Regions from separate parts of the Homo sapiens genome. Here region 2 is linked to region 1. Evidence: promoter capture Hi-C in human tissues and cell types (Jung and others, 2019). All regions are on one chromosome and are shown on one strand. Each heading gives the region's core, a stretch centred on a gene start or on the middle of the fragment in contact. The rest is flanking DNA. Distances are from core to core; before and after follow the strand shown. Region 1 holds the start of SP140L (SP140 nuclear body protein like). Region 2 overlaps SP140L (SP140 nuclear body protein like).

Region 1 (3,074 bases), core at 221-2,720:
CCAGTGTCTTGGCACCTGCTTATTAACTCATTTTGGGGAAAGCAGGGCACCAGTAGAATCAGGGTAGAAACCCCCCACCCTCGTATTTTCAAATGTACCTGAACAAGCATTCACAGCTTCCAACTATTGTGCAATAAACAGCAAAAAAAAAAAAAGTCCTTGAACCAAAATTGTCCTTAGCTGCTCTGCCCTCTAAGATGGGGCATAGTTTACATGGGAGTTGGGGGAGGACTCCATGTTTGCCCCTTCCCCTTGCTGAGATGGCTGGGGGTGGGGGCTGGAAAAAGTTGGATTCAGCAGAATGTAATTTGGAAAACATGGCTCTGGAGCACCATCCCCTCTGGCCCCTGAATCCTCACCAGCTTCCACCCTCTGCTCACCTTGGGCCCTGGATTCCAGCGCCCCCAGGCTCCCAGCTGCCTCCCTGTCTCTGCCCCATGGTCCAGCCTGGAGTTCTGGTCCCTGGTTGTGTCCTGTGGCCCCATTCTCATGCGCCCTTTGCTTCTATTTCTTTACCTATGACTTTATACTGATGTAAAGCGAGTCTTCTCGGTCGCTTCTTGTTCTCTGAGGAATGTTGAATCAGAATCTAAATGGAAAATCTGGGAAGAGATAGAACCTCCCGCGGGAGCCACCCTGCCCTTCCATGTCTAGATCATCTGGGTTCCAACCTCCATCCTCCTCCAATGAGAAGCTTTTGTTCTCTCAAGATTCCAGTGACTTCTCCGAAGCTCTCTTCATCCCTGGCTGTTCCAAGGTGGCCCCATAGTCAAGATTCCTTAAACCCTTGCCCCTTAAAATGTTTGCCTTTCTTACCATGCTGGCTCCAGCCTCTGGTCCCAGGGGTGTGGAGAGTTCTCTCTTACTTCTGGCTGATTTCCAGGAAGGCTAAGAACACTCTCCCCAGGTTATAATGCTGAGCATTTTGGTTCTCTCCAGCCCTGGGTCCCCATGTCAGGACCTACCTTAGTCCAGTCCATGCTCTCCCATGGGCCTGAGAGAAGATTTGAAGTTTCTGGCTTTCCCTCCAACCCTCCAACTCTCACCCCCAGCCATTTCAGCAAGGGGAAGGGGCAAACATGGAGTTTTCCCCCCAACTCCCATGTAAACTATGCCCCCTCTTAAGAGGGCAGAGCAGCTAAGGACTATTTTGGTTCAAGGACATTTTTTTTTTTTTTGCTGTCCATTGCACAAGCAAGTGGACTCCCGGAAGCCAGCCCTGCTCGTCCTCTGGGCCCTCCTTTCCCTGGTCCTGCAGGTCTTGCTGCTTGTCAGGCCTCTCCTCCAACCGTCTGCCACATTTCAGAAAAGCTGAGAACCCCTTGGAGTGAAAAAGGAGGAGAAACACGGTGTCTGTATCCCAGCAGGAAGTTAAATAAATACTTTCACTTTTCTTTTCCCCATTTGGGCAGAAATCTGTGAGGGTGAGTCAGTCTGTCGGCCGACTTCCTGCTCCGGGTCAGGGCAGCCACACTGCACGCAGGCTGGGCCGACTGGGGAGCTCATAGGCCAGGCTCTGACACCCAGGCAGGGCCTAGGGTGGGACGATGGCAGGTGGGGGCAGCGACCTGAGCACCAGGTGAGTCTTTATCTCTCTTCCTTTCACCTTTATCTCTGGCAGTATTGGAGCTTTCATGCCTGTAGTTCAGTTTCTGTCTAAAGCTTCAGTTTAGTCCTGCTTTGCAAGAACATAGGTAGGTAGTGTAATATAATGGAATAAAAGAGAATGTAATAAGGAAATCAGATTTTTACAACTGCAGCAGGACAGCTGTTTGTGTGAGTCCAGCTTGCCATAACACAGATGACTTTTCTTGTTTTGAAACTACTGCTCAGCTGGCGGGGACACTCTGAACAGTCGTTTCAGTCATTTGTGACTGAGAGTTATTATTTCCTCATGAGAATGAGGAACACAAATTATATGTTTGTGTTTCAACAAACATTTCCTCATGATCTCCCAACCCTTTCACATCCCTCTGCCCTCTCTACCTTCACATATGTCATGTCAAAGAAGGTAGTTTGGAAATAGACACTCCAGGGTAAACAGCTGGCTTACTTTTAAACATTGGAAACTGTGGTTTCACCTGTCTTGGCAAGGGGCCTCAGTCAGCTTTGGGGCTATTTCCTTGACTGACTCAGGGTGTGAGTTCTGATACAATTGACCTTGATCCAAAGAAGGAAAAAGAAGAAAAAGGCCCAGGATGGCAGAAAGCTAAATATTTTTATTTTTACTTCAATTTCCTGTCCCAAGATGGGGGATGCCTCTGACCAGAAAAGAGATGGAAATCCTATCTTTTCTCTAGTAACGAGTTTATAAATAACATTACGTAATCTTTTTATTTTATTTCATTTTTTTGAGACAGGGTCTCACTCTGTCAACCAGGCTGGAGTGCAGTGGCACAATCCCGGCTCACTGCAACCTCTGTCTCCTGGGTTCAAGCGATTTTAATCTTTTAAATTTTTTAATACAAAAGAAATACATTACATTCTTACTCATAAAATTTCAAACAGTGGAGAAGTGTATAAACGAAAAAGTCTTCTTCACCACTCACTTCGCCTTGTAGCTTCCTTTCACAGTCTTGTGAAGAGTCTTCGGCATAACTTTTCTCATATTTTTCGATGCATTTACGTGTATGAAGTATGTTTTTGTAAACATATAATTTGTGTTCTCGTTTTGTAATAAATGGAATTACATTGTGCGTGCTATTCTGCATTTTGCATTTCTACTCATTTTAATGGTGGAAATCTTAGAGATCTTTTCACCTTAATGCATATAGATCTACCTCACTCTTTTTACATATACTATTCCATAGAATTTACATAGCATAATTTTTTAACCATTCTCCAATTGAAGGACATTTAGATTGTTTTAAATTGTTCACGTTTATCAATAAGCTATAATAATGATTATATATTTCTCTTTTTTTTGCACATATGCAAGTATTTCTCTTGTGCCTAAACCTTAAAAAGTGGAATTGTTGAAGCAAAGGGTGCTGTTATTTACTTGTTTATAGATCCTGCCAAATTGTCTTTTTAGGGGGCTGAACGGAGGTGTTTCACAAGTAGCAAATGAGATG
Region 2 (2,962 bases), core at 39-2,538, 68 kb after region 1:
TCCAACACGGTCATGGAATACATAAAAATATTTCATAATAAGGTGAGAGTATCATCTCCAACTCAAAATCAGATTTTTTTCATTGATGTTATTATTTTCTAACTTTTGTGAAATTGATAGAGCAAACGTCTCCTCACAGTCACTTGAGACATGTATGAAACCATATATCATTTCATGAAATAGGTAATAAAAATAATATTTCTTTTCTGATCTTTCACATCCTCTTTCACCTTCCAAAAAAATGTACACACAGATACACAGAATTCTTTCTCAATGGGAAATTATTTACCTTTGTCAAGATGGTGCCATTGGGGAGGAAGATCTCCAGAGGCAAACGTATTTTACAGGAGGAGCTGACCAGGAAAATCTTTTATGTTGATGCCACCTCTTTGGTTCTACCAGAGGGACTGTGCAGACCTGCTTTTTATCTGTGAAAGTGATTTTTCCTTCACTTAAGAACGCAACAAACAAATAGGTTAAGTGCAGTGTAGATTCAGGACAAGGTGATGGTTTTTCGAAGACTGGGTGTGAATGAGAACCTGAGGAGGGGAAAGAGAAAAATGTCATCCTTATGCACTTCAGGTAGAAATATGCATTCAAGACATTCACAGACTTCTAAAACAGCTCACACATAGCTAGCCACTAAGCTTCATATTCCACTGGGAACCTGAGATCCAGGCCTTTACATTATCTGATATACTGGCTGATTTGAATTCTCAGCCACTGAGACATTTCATCCACTGGGTTTCCCGAAGGGAAACTATGATGTCACCTATTCAGTGAGTACACTAAAGACCAGCAACTCTACCTTTCCCCAGGTGCCAAGAGTAACTCAGCCTGGGTGACCCAAATGAGCTGGCAATTTCCAACCAACCGACTCTCCCTCTATTCAGGGGTGCAACACTTAGCAGCAACAAGCTACAGTTGCCTCTATATGTTATGTCTCCTCATGGGGAGAACAGAGGTCCCCCGAGTGGCAGATCCAGGATCCATTATGAACTCCATGGGTCCTCTGTGCCTCTCAGAGCTTCTCTTCCTTGCAGAGCCACTTGGCTTCTGGAAACTTCAGTGTCACTATCAGTGCCACATGATAATGTCTCTGCTCAGGCTCATGACAAGGGCCACATAAACCTTTTGGTGGTAGCTGCGGTGTTGTAAAACAATCTGATACACTCACCCAGAATAATCGTTGTGTGCTAATGCTTGCTTAAGAGACTCCAGTAATTTTTTTTTTTGAGACGGAGTTTCACTCTTGTCATTCAGACTGGAGTGCGGTGGAGCAATCTCAGCCTCGCAGGTTCAAGCAATTCTCCTGCCTCAGCCTCCCAAGTGGCTGGGATTACAGGTGCCTGTCACCACACCTGGCTAATTATTTGTATTTTTAGTAGAGACAGGGTTTTGCCATGTTGGACAGGCTGGTCTTGAACTCTTGAAACAATATTCATTTATTCACCCATTGAACATATACTTATCAAGCATATACTAAATTCCAATGGCATTACAGAAGATTGACCTCAAAAATCATTTCAAGCCAGGCATGGTGACTAGAGCCTATAATGCCAGCATTTTGAGAGGCTGAGATGGGAGGATGACTTGAGCTCAGGAATTTGAGACCAACCTGGACACATCGTGAGATATCATCTCTACCAAAAAAAAATAGAAAAATACCCAGGCATTGTGGTGCATACCTGTAGTCCCACCTACTCAGGAGGCTGAGGTGGGAGGATCACTCAAGCCTGGGAGGTCGAGGCTATAGTGAGCTGTGATTTTATCATGGCATTCTAGCCTGGGTGACAGAGTGAAACCCTGTCTCAAAAAAAAGAAAAAAAAATTGTTTCAATTTTATTGTAAACATGGATGAATTACAAATGGGTGGAGTAGGAGATTTAGGCTAGTCAGAGACGCACTCAGTGACAAGGTCACCTCTCAGGTGCTTGTGCTTTAGATCACACTTGTTTATAGCCCTGTGCCCTGGGCTACAGACAAAAGCTGAGGCTGCCTGTATCCCAGAAGGGAAAGGTGCCAACTCCTGCAATGGATATCCAAAAGCAATCTAAATAAATCTAGTGGGTTACCTCTTAAAAGACAGTCAACCTGACATCTTGTGATTTGGATAGAAGGGAGAGCAGGAGACTCTCAGGAAGAAGAGCTGCAGCACAGAGGACCTTGGAGTCATTTTATCACCAGGGCTGTGTCCCTAGGGGAGCTGCAGAAAGCAGTGCTCTTCTCTGGGACACTTTCATGGCCTCCAGGACTCTGGGCCCTGTGGTCCCTGTAGGCTGTGGGGGATAAATTCTCAGCCTGATTATTATTGCAACTCCTCTGGGTGGGATGACACAAAGGCCAAGTTTAGGAAATATGCCTGAGGGCCCCTTGGAGTAAGAGGACAAGTAGAGCTTCTCTGACTTGGCCTGGGCAAACTAGGTCCAGACTCCCTGCAGGGAATGGGACTTGCATTGGGCTGAACAGTAGTACTTGGGCACTTTTTCTTCCCTCAGTAGATATATAGGTCCAAAAAATCAGATATGAGGTAAAGGGAAGACTGTTTAAAAAAATAAAACTTTAGACAAAATAAATTTAATAGCATTTATTGGAGCAAAGAGCAATTCATGAATTGGGCAGCACTCAGAACAAGAAGAGGTTCAGAGAGCTATGCTGTAGCAGCCCAGATGGTGAGGCCAACACAGGAGTAAGACAGAGAAATTATATTTAATGGATTATCATGGAAAGATGCTAATTAGAGGTAGATGACGGATTCCAGTTGGTAAATTCTCTAGTTTCATTTTACTGTTTACATCAGGTTTCAGTTTGCTTACATAGGAAATTAAAGCACTGGAGCCACCCCAGCCTACTGGCCTTCATCTCCTCCCAATTATTTTTTTACAACTGGTTCCTGAATCCCTTCAAAGATGACTATTTAAATTTAAGTAAGTGATAGATGGAAACAATGCATTCAATATCA

What was found. The method cuts DNA at HindIII sites, captures the fragments that hold promoters and counts their contacts. A contact is called where the count stands out against the background at its distance.
Region 2: a fragment that was not itself captured here is called in contact with the fragment with the promoter of SP140L in region 1 in 2 of the 25 tissues and cell types used here (lymphoblastoid cells and thymus).

What each region holds. Positions count from the first base shown.
Region 1 is chr2:230,325,723-230,328,796 of GRCh38, forward strand. SP140L (SP140 nuclear body protein like) reads left to right here and starts at 1,471. Exons shown (of 19, transcript NM_138402.6): 1 at 1,471-1,579; 2 at 3,035-3,074. The coding sequence starts at 1,548. RefSeq lists an enhancer at 1,145-1,614. The HindIII fragment of the contact is 8,396 bases long and covers 1-3,074 here.
Region 2 is chr2:230,393,767-230,396,728 of GRCh38, forward strand. The region is part of intron 13 of SP140L (SP140 nuclear body protein like); the gene reads left to right. It overlaps LOC105373925 (a long non-coding RNA gene), which reads right to left. Exons shown (of 4, transcript XR_001739922.2): 4 at 383-539. Among named protein-coding and RNA genes, the nearest start is that of SP100, 21 kb to the right of the region's middle. The HindIII fragment of the contact is 6,208 bases long and covers 1-2,962 here.